3 separate regions of the Homo sapiens genome follow, and regions 1 and 2 are each linked to region 3. Evidence: promoter capture Hi-C in 16 types of primary human blood cells and fetal thymus (Javierre and others, 2016). All regions are on one chromosome and are shown on one strand. Each heading gives the region's core, a stretch centred on a gene start or on the middle of the fragment in contact. The rest is flanking DNA. Distances are from core to core; before and after follow the strand shown.

Region 1 (4,342 bases), core at 623-3,122, 300 kb before region 3:
AGGTCCTCCAAGGAGGCAGTGCTCACTGTTTTAGTCACACGACGCAGGAACACAGACCACAAACCCGCCTCTCATTCCTCCTCCCCTTGCCACCTTTCGCAGGTAAGGTGCTTCCAGCCTTGCCTCCCGTCCCTCAGGGCTGGGTCAAGCAAAGCCCCAGCAGTCAGAAAGGATGGGGCTTCCACTGCACTTGGTGTCTGATGGGACCCTCACAGACCCAGTCAAGACCACCAGTGTGTGAGTCTTCAACACCCCACAGAGAGACGTGCCAGACCAAGACCAAAGACTTTTTTTTTTTGGCCAAAGCTTCACCAGAACAATAACAAGTCACTCCCCAGAGCCAACCTCAAGATCTTATTGAGCTCAACAACCAGCTCAGGCATCTCTACTTTATCCAGTCCCCACAGAGGGAGCACCTCTGTCTGCCGCAGCCCCGGGACGCTTCTTACCTGGGATGATGGAGACTGTGTCTTTCTCCCAAGATACAACGCTAACATATTCCTGCACTGAAGAGGGGATGAGGCACTTGAAGACGGCCACGTTGCCACGCATTGACCTTTGATCCTCCACCCGGACGGTGTAGGGTTCCCTGAAAACTGCAGAGAGATTGGCAGTGGGGAAGAGAAGAGTGTCACAAGGATGTGGTGAGGGTCCCCAGAAAGGAACAGGGAGTCAGCTCAACTCCCTCTGCTCCTTCAGCCTCACCTTCCCACTTCTTCCTTCCCCCATCCTGCTTAGCCAGCCTAGAAGCCCCTGCCATGATCTTGTTCTTGTCTGGGCAACTCCTTCTCCATCAACCTCCTCCCCATCCTACTGGGCAGCCTTTTCTCCCTCAAAAATATCTGGCCTCCCTCTGCAAGACCATCCATCCAAATTCCTACCTTTCCCATTTCGGTATTAGCAAGTCATATTAGATTGTAAAAGCCTTGAGGGCAGCACTAAGCCCTGCAATGTTATATTCACCAAGGGGATGTGCAGGTAATAAGGAAATATGCTAGAATTCCCCTAAGAAAACCAAACCGGATTTCCTGCATTATTGCTGGACCCAGGGTGGCAATTATTTTGGACACAGTGACCATAATGCACCCAAACAAAACCTGTGACACATGCTCTAACAATTGAGTTTTGGGCTCCTTCAACATGAAAGGCAGCCTGGGAAATGTAGTTCAGATCCTGAGCTTACAAGGACAAAGGGAGAGAATGTTTGGGACTACGATTGTCTCTGAGCACACAGAATCCTAGAGACATGGACACAGTCTCCAAGATTCTCCAAAACAGAGCATTCTTGCTGCTTTCTTCCTGCTTCTGACCCTGGCTGCAGCCTCTACAGCACCCCTCCCTGACCCCCAGACTTGCCCCTGCTTTCAGAACCATCCCTTCCCCCACCGTGCCCACCTCCTGCCTCAGCTGGCTTCTAGGGCATTGCCAACTGCAGCCGCTGTATGTGTCTGGCCCTACAGGCAGGCAGACCCAGCCCTAGGAATGGGACCAAGGCTTCTGCCTCTGCCTTGTCCTCCTCTGTTTGGCCTCTCCCAGGCCTCGCTTGATCCTTCCACCCCCTTATCTGCCAAGCAAAGCTGGAACATCCAGAGCCCTGCTGCCTCCCGACCTTGTCCCTCAGCAGGCACCTGGGCAGCGTGCCCTCCTCCTCTCCCTGCCATGGTTGCCAGGGTGACACTTAGGGCCCTGGCAGCCCATCCCCACCCCCTGACTGTGCACCTGCAGCCCCTCTGGCATCATCAAGAGTCTCTTAATTGACTGTGTTTCCAGTCAGCCTGGCTCTTCCCGGCCCTCCCTCGGCCTTTATTCTTTCCCCTTCTCCAAGCTGTGGCTGTGATGAGGAGAAGATGTGGTTGAGGTGGAAGAAAGAGAAGAGAGGAGAGGCACTGGTGGCTCTGTGGATCTGTGGTCCAGCCCTTCCAAAGGTTTGGGCAGAGCCCTGCCTCCAGATATGGGAGAGCACAGAGGAGAACAAGGGGAATGGACCCTGGAGGGAGGCAAGGTGGTGGAGTGGAAAGAGCGGGCTGGGGTGCACGCCACCTGTGATGTCCCAGGGAGTCAGCAGAGGTTAATGGCTAACGGCATCTAACAAGCGGGCCCTGCCTCCTCCACTGGCCCACTGTGTGATCCTGGACAAGGGTTGGTTAACCTTCTGGAGCCCCAGTTTCTTCATTTATGAAAGGAAATCACCATAAGAGCAGCGTATAAAAGGCCCAGCCCAAGGAAAGCACTTTGGCAATGTCACTTTTCATGATAGCTGCACCTCTGCGATTAACTGGCTATGTGCCCTTGGGCAAGTGACTTAACTCTCTTTGTTTTAATCTCTTCATTTGTGAAAACACATGTATAGACTTACTGTGAAAACTGCATCCTAACCCAATGAGGGGGAGGTGACAGGAAACATGGTCCCTTCCCCTTAGCCCAATCCTCCACGCTGTGGAGGCCAGAGCTGGGCTCCAAACCCAGGCCTCAGGGCTCCCAGCCCAGCACTTGGTGCTGCATTAGGGGTTGAGCCGTGCAAAGCACTTGCTCCTAAAAAGAGTCCATGGGGAGCCCAGGGAGAAACCCTGAGCATATCTCTGTGTTCTAAGAGCTCATGGTCTAGCCCCAAACCAACCAATGGAATGAAGGACAGCTCTCACCCCACCTCACCCCTACACACTCCCGTTCCCAGCTACTTTAAACCTTGCTCTTATGAGAGGTGTACCTAAGGGAAAAGGACCCCAAGAAGTCAGAGAGGGTCTGTCACCACATGCTGGTTGGGAGGCCTTTCCCAGAACCACTCTCCCTGGTTGGCCCAACACAGTCCCTGGAAAAGATGGTGTGACCTAGGCCTGGCACCATTGCAGTGGGCTGGGTCTTTAAGTTGAAAAGCTCTTCTAAGTTGAAAACCATTCCCAAAACGTCAGTGCTTTATAATGATCCGAGACCCACCTTACCATTGATTGTGAGACACCAGTGTACCCTGGTGTCCTAGTGAAGAATGGCTGATCTTAGCTGTCCCCTTGGCCTCCCGACATAATCCAGAGAAATAAGACTTTCTTTTTTCTTAAAATAGACCACCTGAGAAACCCTACCTCCTTGCCTCCACCTACTCTTCCAAAGACCAAAATCCTTCACTGCTAAAAGTCTTTCATCGTGAATTTTACCAAATTGCCTTTTCTCATGAGATATGTCATCCTCAGACATCCCCTCAGCAGTAGAATGGACAAAGAAAGTGTGGTCTAGTTGCATGATAGAACACTAGGCAGCAGTGAGAACAACCAACCTCCCACCACACACAGCAGCAGGGGTAAATCCCATAAGCAGAATGGTGAGCAAAAGGTCTAGACAATATACACCGTTGGACACCATTTGTATAAAGTTCATAAATAAGCAAAATATCTACATTGTTAGAAATCAGAATAGTGGTGGCTCTTAGGGGAATAGTGTCACAAAAGAAGCTTGAGGAACGCTTCTAAGGTGCTGATGTTGTATTTCTCAATCTCAGTGTTAGTTGAAGTTTGTAAAATTTCATCAAGCTACATACTTGTAATGTGTGCACTTTCCTTTATATATTATTTTTCAATAAAAGGCTTCAAGGAAACCTCACTGCGGGTTTTCTATAAGTCAAGGGGGCTGAAGTGAGCACCTCATTTAAATGAGCACCAACTCATTTAACCATCACACGTAGTGATACAGAGGTAGGTACTTGCATCCACTTTGCAGATGGGAAAACTGAGGCTTAGGAAGGTGTCTTCTCACCACTGCACTCCAGTCTGGGCGACAGAGTGAGGCTCTGTCTCAAAAAGCAAAAAGAAAGAGAGAGAGAGAGAGAGAAAGAAAGAAAGAAAAAAAGAAAAAAAGAAAGAAAGAAAGAGAAAGAAAGAGAGAGAGAGAAAGAAAGAAAGGAAAGAAAGAAAGAAAGAAAGAAAGAAAGAAAGAAAGAAAGAAAGAAAGAAAGAAAGAAAGAAAGAAAGAAAGAGAGAAAGGAGAAAGAAAGGTGTCTCTTATGCCTATGGACACACAGCAAGTGGTACAACAAAGATTCAAAAGAGAACAACAAAACTGTTCTTGAGTGAACGACTTCTTGCAAGCCCCTCCGAATATCCTCAGAATGACGGCGCAGCCTCCTCCTGTGCCACTGGGGCAGCCAGTGTCTTGTCCCTTACCTGCTTTGACGCGGATGTTGGGGCTCCGGATCTTGCCGGCAGCGTTCTCCGCGGTGCAGAAGTAGTCATTGTCGTGGATAAAGCTATTGAAGGCGGAGGGGGAGAAGGGGTAGAGCTGCAGCGTCCCGTTGGCGTGGACGTGCCGGATGTGCGGCACGTCGTAGATGTCGTCCCCTGTGGCCAGGTACCAT
Region 2 (4,278 bases), core at 781-3,280, 280 kb before region 3:
CTGTCCTGTTGCCTTCTGGGCCTTTCTCCACCCCCAACCCCATCTGCTCCCGCCCTATCAAATAGCTCGGCTTCATTTATTAATGCCAGGCTCCTGGAAGGGGGAGGGGAGTGTCCTTCAGGTATTTGCTGAGGGGCCTCCTGCACTCCCCGGGAATGGGCTGTCCTGGAAGATGTCTCCAGAGAGTGTTGTGGAGGCATGGGGGAGTTGGGGACAAAGCCGGGCTAGAGTGTGGCAGCGGCTTCGGCCTGTGCTTTCTCGCCTGACAAATTGCGAAAGGGGATGGGGGTTGGAGAGAGAACTATCGAGAGAGAAAGCCGCTCCTCACCTTATGTATTTTTAATATTAATGTAATTAAAGCTGCGAGCCGAGCCAGCCTGCGGGGGCGGAGGGAGGCAGGAAGAACCTGGGGAGAGGGAGACTGGGGTTCGGGGGTGGGGCTTGAACAGGAGGCAGGCTTCTTGCTCTGCTAAGGTAGGATGAAGGAGTGCGATGCGGGGGGCAAGGGGTTAAACAGCAGAGACCAGCCTTGGTGTGTAACCCGGGGGACCCCACTGGGCCTGAGAAACTCAACTACTTTGTCGACGATTTTTGAGGCCACCCTTCCTTGTCCCGCAATCCGATCGCCTAGTAAATGCCAGCAGTATCTGGGCCTTGAGTCTGGCTTTGACCCGGCAGTATCTACAAATAAGGGTTATCCTCTTTCCCCCAACCCACGATGTATCGCAGTGGGCTCCGGCAGGCTGCAGACTCCAGACCCCTGGAGCACCGGCAGGGCAGGGTTGGACCCCTCCCCGGGTGGCAACCCTCCACTGGAGTGCCCTTCCTCATCGTCTTGGGGTTAAGAGTTGCCGCCCGGCCAGGGCAACAGCCAGGGCAAAGGGAGAGAGAAGCCGCCCCGGGGCGAGAAGGAGAAAAGTTAGAGGGCTGAACAGGTGACGCTGAGCTTGTTGGAGCGTGTGTGCTCCACCACGCAAGGGCGCGGAGTTCGGCCGCCTCATCTCCCGCCATCTGCGCGCCCGGGGGCACGTCCTCTGCGATAGCCTGGAACCCAGACTACCTGCGCCTGCCTGGTCCCGACTCAGTGCCCAGGTGGCTTCAGTCGGAAATGTCTGCCCTCTTCCAACCTCCCGATCCCGGCTGCCTCGCGGATCAGGTACGCAGCGCCCCAGCCGCAGGTCTGGACATGCCGGACACCTGGACCCACCCCTAGCAACCCCCTCTCTCCGGGAAGAGGGACACGCCCCCCAGCCTGAAGACTTGTCCCCAGGTCCAACTGGCCAGGCGCGGAAGCGGAGAATCTCGCATCTTGGGGCGCGCTGCCCGAGGTGGCCACGGTGGCGCACCAAGCCGGGGCTAAAGCCGGGGCAGAGGGGTGGGGTAGGGCCGGGGGAGGGTGACCTCTGGGTTTGGAGAACAAACTTGCTATCCGAGGGACCTCCAGCTCTCGGGACTCTCACTATCCCCACCCTGCCTCCAGCCAATGCGCGGATAAGCGCCATGCGGTGCGCCAACATTCGCGCCAGGGCTGGGGTCCGCGGCGGGAGAGGGACGCACGGACATAGCGGAGGAATCAGCCGCCGAGTCCGAGGCCTGAATAAGCAAGGACTCCTAGGTCAAGAGTCACGGCCTGAGGACCCCTCGACTCGGAGGGCACTCCGGGGTCCCAGTGCCACCAAGCCGCAGGAAGAGGGCAAGGGGCTGGGGGAGGGGTCCAGGGCAGAACTGCCGCCGTGCAGGGAGCAGGGAGATGAGGGGCTCCTTTGCCACCACCCCTACGGGCGCGCCCCAAAACGGCAGACGCGGGTGGCTGGCGGAGCGGTCGGGGGCTGACTCTCACTCGGCCCCTGTCAGGGTGCCTGCCCCTCCCCGCTGCGCCCCACCCGGGGCCTTGCACCCCGGTCGGTTCCCCCACGCACCTGGAGCCCGCCGGGCACCCCGCCTCGCCGCCAGCCGCGCCACCCTGGCCCCGCCGCCTCCGCCGCCCAGCCGCCCGCGCAGGTCTCACCTTTGTGTAAAGAGTCCAGGAGCAGGAGGAAAGTTACCAGCCACATGCCATAAAGAGGCCCTATTCTCCGGGGAGGTGGTCCTGTGGCCGGCCGTGCGGCAGCGCCTCTCCCCCGCTCAGCGCGCTCCCAGCCGCCCGCACTCGGCGCCCCGCTCTCTCTGCTCCTCAGCCCAGCGCTCGGCTGCGGCGGCGGCTCCTCCCTCCTCGGCTCCCCGGCTCCTGTCATCCGCGGGGCTGGGCTAGGCGGCCGCTCTCCCCGCCCCCCCGCGGCACCCCGGGTGGTGAGCGCCGCGCGAGCCCGGAGCCCAGACGGACCCCAGCCCCACAAGCCCAGGAACAGGAGCGGCGGCCCGGGCCAGACCGCCCCGACCCGGCTCCGCTGTCTGAGAGGCGAGGGGTCCCTGTCACCCACCGGCTTGGAGCCTGTGGTCGCAGACAGGCATGTGTCATCCATGTGCCAACAGCCTGCCATGCTTCAGCCAAGGACGCCCGGTTTCTACTGGCCTAAGTCACCTGGGACACGAGCTTCCTGCCTCTTTCGGACTCAGCTTACCCGGCCCCCCCACCCTCCCCAGGAGGAGCATGGACGCTCTGGGTAGAATCCCAGGCTTTTCAGTGCTGTCTGGTGCTACTCCCCACCCCAAAGTTCATAGCTGCCCTTCCAACCCCTCGTGACTTCCGCAAGCCTGCCCTCCGGAGAACCCCAGATGAGTCCAGCCACCCCCTGGCACGCTGTTCGAATTTTCCTCAGCACTTGGCACATTGTGACTATTTAAACGGTTATTCACAATGAGCAGTTTAATGTCTACGCTACCTGTGTTATCTTCCTCCTTTGTCTTCACCTACCCACCCCTATAGCTTTCCTGCCTGACAGAAATTGGCTTATTCCTTACACTCATCTTTATGAAGTTGGCATAGAATAGGACTGGAGTGAGGGCGTCTTCTCAGTGACCAAATGAATGTTGAGCACCTGCTGTGTCAGGCACTGGCTCAGGCACTGGGGACTCAGGCATGGCTGAGCCAGGTCTGCTGTAAAAGGTCAATATGGTTGGAAAGCCCTCCTTTCGTCTTAATTCCAAAATAAGAGGATACATAGAACCCAGAGAAGGGATCCAGGTATCCCTGAGAATGGCCTATGAGCCAGGACTGTAGCTCCCTTTGCAGGGTCATGGAAGCTGCTTTGAGTATGCCCTGACAATTGGGCTGTACCTGGGCAGACTCTAAGGTGTGGAGTGCGAAGTTTGGAGGGAGAGAAGGGGTCCACTGGCTAGCTGCATTTGCCAGAGGAAGAAAATTTACTTCCTCGAAATGTGCGGCCTAAGTTCACATGGGAGAATTGGGACTCCTCACTCCCAGGTTTTGCCAAAATATCCCTAGAAATTTTAACTAAATTTTGAAAAGTGTGTTTTTTAATATGTTAAAATGTACATAACATAAAATTTACCATTTCAACCATTTGAAGTGTACTATTCTGTGGCATTAAATACATTCACGATGTGCAACCATCATCACTTACCATTTCCAAAACTTTTTCATCATCCCAAACAGAATCCTGCACCCATTAAATAATAACTCCCCCTTCCCCTCCCCTCCCCCAGCTCCTGGCAACCACTATTCTACTTTGTCTCTATGAAGTTGCTTATTCTAGGTACCTCATAAGTGAGATCATAAAGTATGTATCCTTTTGTGCTTGGCTTACTTCACTCAGCATAATGTTTTCAAGGTTCGTCCTTTAAACGGGTGAGAAAATCGGGGCTTAACTTGTTCAAGGCCACCAAGGTTGTATCAGAAGCAAGACTAGAACCCAGGCCTCCCGACTCCAGAGCAGAGCTTGCTCTATAAGCTGCAGCATCCCTCGGTGGCTCAGCTCTTCATGCAAAATCACCACCCTGAAACAATTTGCAGGAGGTGTTTTGTCATCTGGAAACACAGGCATAGAACAGAGACGGGGGGACAGACTGCAGGGGGTGTTTGAGATGACCCAGACCGATCTTTTGCTTTACAGATAAGGAAACTGAGGCCCAGAGTGGGGAAGCCATGAGCCTTCCCCGAGGTCACGCAGGGAGTGACAGAGCCCTCACGTTTCCAGTCTTCTGTCTTAGCTCCCATCTCTCACCGCCCTCAGCCTGCTGGCTTATTCTTCTACCATGCCCCCTCCCTTCTAAAGGGAACGGTCATTGAGAGGAATCCAGTTATTTAAAACTAAGCCTATTGACCCAGAGCACCTGGTCAGGTCATGCCTAAAATAAACCGCTAAGGCAGACAGGATG
Region 3 (4,130 bases), core at 975-3,474:
AACCTTCACCCCCACCTGCAGGCATCACAGCCACCCTGCCCAGTCCTGCTTATGTGCCTTCTTCCCGGACCTCTCCACAAACTCCCAGACCCAAATGGGAGCAGAAGCCAGGAGGGCTGAGTCATCATCCCTCCAACCAGCCATGCCCAGCAGCCTTCATGCCCAGACAGCTGCCTCTTTCCTGGTTCATCACCTGAGCACCAGGTAAAGCAATGCAAACCTGTGGGCCAGATGTTTAGCCTGGCACATAGAGGAACCAAGACAACTGAAAACGTGGCTCCCAGTGGCCCACTGGCTTCTCACTGCCCTGCTGCTGGGGAGGTGCCTGCCTGGACCATCACGGCCCTGACCCTGAGGTCACCTGAGATCACAGGCTCTTGCCTCTGCCCAAGACTTCCAACTCTCAAGGCCACCAGCCATCAGTAAGGAAGGGCTGGGGCTGTGCTGGCTCCAGAGCCCTGCAGGCCAGCTTCAGATCTCTGCTGCTCAGAGACAAGTCCAAGGCCACACTGCATTCATCAGCTGAGATTTGGCCAATAATCCATTACACAGATCCGGTATTCCTCCTGCTCAGACATCACTGGGGTCCTCCATGGGCCATATTATCCCAAACCATGAACCTGGGGCTTTCAAACACTTGTGTTCCATTCAGCCTGTTCACAAGCCTGGCAGTGTGAACCAGTAAGAGAACCAGGTTCCAGCCCCAACTCTGCCCGAAACTACTTCATGTCCATAGGCTATAGTTTCCTCAGCTGACAAATGGGAACAAAATATTGGGGTTGTTGTTGGAGAATTAAAGGGCTGATACACAGAAGCACGTTATCAACAGAAGGACAAATACACACGTCTAACCCAGGCTGGTCTCCTGGGAGGGTCAGGTCTGAGAAATGGAAGGAGATCTGGATTCATATGGAACCAGACACTAATTCATTATGTGACTTTGGGTCATTGACTTTGCCTCTCTGGAATTTAGTTTTGTCGCCCACAGAATGGGGGAACAATGTGGACAATTATCCAAGTCTCTCCCAGCAAAATATCTGTGGCTGTAAGGTTTCACCTTGCACATCCCCTGGCCAGGGGGCAGCTCCAGCTATCAGGATGTGGCAGAACGTGAATCAGAAATGATCCTGTGGGGCTGGGTGCGGTGGCTCACGCCATAATCACAGCACTTTGGGAGGCTGAGGCAGGTGGATCAGTTGAAGCCAGGTGTTTGAGACCAGCCTGGCCAACATGGCAAAACCCCATCTCTACTAAAAATACAAATTAGCCAGGCATGGTGGCGCACAACACCTGTAATCCCAGCAGCTACTTGGGAGGCTGAGGCAGGAGAATCACTTGAACCTGGGAGGTGGAGGTTGCAGTGAGCCAAGATCGCGCCACTGCACTCCAGCCTGGGCAACAGAGACTCTGTCTCAAAATAAAATAAAATACAAAAACACAAAACTTAGCTGGGTGTGGTGGCAGGTGGCTGTAGTCCCAGCTACTCGAGAGGCTGGAGCACGAGAATTGCTTGAACCTAGGAGGCGGAGGTTGCAGTGAGCTGAGATTGCGCCCCTGCACTCCAGCCTGGGGGACAGAGAGAGACCCTGTCTTAAAAAAAGAAAAGAAAAAAAGAAAGAAAGAAAGAAGGAAATGACTCCGTGGACGAGGAGACGTGGGCTCTAGCCAGAGCACCAATAGTGATTTTCAGAATATTGAACGGCTGCTGAGGCAGGGGCAGGAAGCACTAGTACATTGGCTCTGTGCAGGACAGCTTCACTTCTGGGATCCAGGGAAAGGGGGTACATCTTACCTCCCTAAGAGAAGAAACTCCCTCCTTCTCTGTGGACTTTCCAATCCTATTGCTCCACACCTGGCAATGATCTCTTTGTACTGAGCTGCAAACCCTGTCGCCCAACCCCCAGACCACTCCAACTTCCCACAACCCCAAACCAAAGCACCCACACAGTGAGAAGTCATGCACCTAGAAGGTAGGGGGAGGGGGGGCGGAAACTTCTGGCATCACCCTCAGCCAACACCCAGTTGGGTGGAAGTCATTCAGGCGGGAAGGCTTTTGTTACGCCTTAGGTGTGTCACCTGTTCTGAGGCCGAAGGTCCCATGAATGACTTCAGGTGTTGTTCCAGCCCCTAAGATAGGTGTCAGGTTACAAGACACATAATCATTCCAGTTTGGCAACTTCACTTGTAGGGCTGTTTTAATCAAGCTGCCCAAAGTCCCCCAATCACTCCTGGAATACACAGAGAGAGGCAGCAGCTTGCTCAGCGGACAAGGATGCTGGGCGTGAGGGACCAAGGCCTGCCCTGCACTCGGGCCTCCTCCAGCCAGTGCTGACCAGGGACTTCTGACCTGCTGGCCAGCCAGGACCTGTGTGGGGAGGCCCTCCTGCTGCCTTGGGGTGACAATCTCAGCTCCAGGCTACAGGGAGACCGGGAGGATCACAGAGCCAGCATGGTGAGTGTGGGGCCCTCTGCTCCCAAGACACAGGAAGGGTGGGTCTCCCCATGTAAGGCCCTTCAAGCAGCCTGAGCATCCATCAGCTGAGAATTCTGTGACACCTTCTAGGTTAAAAAAAGAGGCCACACCCAAATCCCCTCACACCCCAGCCCGGTACACGTCTCATACCCACCTGCCTTCCTCTCTTCCTCCATTGCCATGGTCCTTGGACCAGCTCACCTAAGAAGCTGAGCACAGAGCCAGGGCTGTCCTTCCCGACTATTCTTTCCTGAATCCTGCATGTTCTTTTGCCCAATGTCTCCAGGTCTGTTGGTTAGAGGTTGGCACTATTTTTCCAAGGCAGGGGGCTGTTCTGATGCCACGGTTGCCCTCTGCCACTCCCTGGGGAAACTGATTCCTTTTCTTTTTAAAGAAAAGTGTAGACTGGGTGCAGTGGCTCACGCCTGTAGTCCCAGCACTTTGCGAGGCTGAGGCAGACAGATCTCTCGAGGTCAGGAGTTTGAGACCAGCCTGGCCAGTATGGTGAAACCCCATCCGTACTAAAAATACAAAAAATTAGCCAGGCGTGGTGGCAGGTGCCTGTAATCCCAGCTACTTGGGAGGCTGAGGCAGGAGAATCGCTTGAACTTGGGAGGCGGAGGTTGTGGTGAGCCAAGATTGTGCCATTGCACTCCAACCTGGGCAACAAGAGTGAAACTCCGTCTCAAAAAAAAAAAAAAAAAAAAAAAAAAAAAAAGAAAGAAGGAAAAGAAAACAGTGCAGAGATGCCTCCAAACAATCTAGGGTGTTTGTGGTCATCTTTTACTTGGTCTCTTTTCATGCCCTCACCCTCTCTCCTCCTCCTCTGAATACCTGGAGCGTCTTCGCTGTCTTGGGGCAAAGAGAATCAACCCTATCTTTCAAGGAGGACAGCTGAGGGCCAGGGAGGGGAAGAGATAATAACTGGGTCTGAGGAGGAACCCAGGGGTCTTCCTTCTCCAGTCCTTGGCCAAGAGGCAGCAATTGCCCAGCCACCAAAGTGAAAGGGAAGGGAAGAGAGGAAAGGAGAAGCCACTGTCCAAGGGGGAAGGGTGTGACCTGCAGGGGCCCCTCGAGTGATTGTCTCCTATTCCCAACCTGAGCACTTCCCACGACACTCTTCTGAAAATTCTGGCAAGAACAATTCTTAGTGCGGTTGTAGCTGATGATCAGAAAGGGGAAGGGGCTTCCCTTTGAGCCAGGATCAAAGCACAAGCTTCCTGCTTTCCCATCCAAGGAGGCGCCCCAAAGTTTGGCCTGTGTGCAGAGACGCTGTATCCCCTGGGGCTCCCAGGAGAGGAGAGCAGCTGTGGAGTCTACCTAGCTGTGAGCTGCTTCTGGGTGGCAGGCACTGAGGAGACCTGGGGTGTCTCTTGGGGGAGCAACAGAGAAGGGAATCATTTCTAGGGCAGGTCACTAACTGCAGAATCAGAAGGCTGAGGCCAGCTCCCTGATTAGCTGTGCTGTCTTGAGGCATTCATCTTCCCGAGACTCACCTTCTCCCCTGCCCACGGAAACGATATGACCCACAACAGCCCCACGCACATGCACCGGGTTCGCAGAGATTACACAGCTAATACATGTGAGTAGGTTCTGGAAACCATGAAGCCCCGCACAGATGTAAGGACTTAGGACTAAAGAGGAGTCTGTGCTAGGA

The links. Contacts are between HindIII fragments. The CHiCAGO score rates a contact against its expected background, and 5 or more counts as called.
Region 1: a fragment that was not itself captured here is called in contact with the fragment with the promoter of TMPRSS4 in region 3 in 6 of 17 cell types (activated CD4 T cells, endothelial precursors, naive CD4 T cells and 3 more); the score reaches 6.7 in activated CD4 T cells.
Region 2: a contact is called between a fragment that was not itself captured here and the fragment with the promoter of TMPRSS4 in region 3, in 10 of 17 cell types (activated CD4 T cells, naive CD4 T cells, neutrophils and 7 more). The highest score is 7.8, in activated CD4 T cells.

The regions. Positions count from the first base shown.
Region 1 is chr11:117,776,342-117,780,683 of GRCh38, forward strand. DSCAML1 (DS cell adhesion molecule like 1) reads right to left here. Exons shown (of 33, transcript NM_020693.4): 2 at 4,152-4,342; 3 at 450-596. Among named protein-coding and RNA genes, the nearest start is that of DSCAML1, 19 kb to the right of the region's middle. The HindIII fragment of the contact is 3,137 bases long and covers 305-3,441 here.
Region 2 is chr11:117,795,026-117,799,303 of GRCh38, forward strand. It overlaps DSCAML1 (DS cell adhesion molecule like 1), which reads right to left and starts at 2,191. Exons shown (of 33, transcript NM_020693.4): 1 at 2,009-2,191. The coding sequence starts at 2,054. The HindIII fragment of the contact is 5,146 bases long and covers 1-4,278 here.
Region 3 is chr11:118,074,854-118,078,983 of GRCh38, forward strand. It overlaps TMPRSS4 (transmembrane serine protease 4), which reads left to right and starts at 2,225. Exons shown (of 13, transcript NM_019894.4): 1 at 2,225-2,452. The coding sequence starts at 2,450. All of the region lies in intron 1 of SMIM35 (small integral membrane protein 35), which reads right to left. RefSeq lists an enhancer at 2,080-2,675. The HindIII fragment of the contact is 4,332 bases long and covers 1-3,687 here.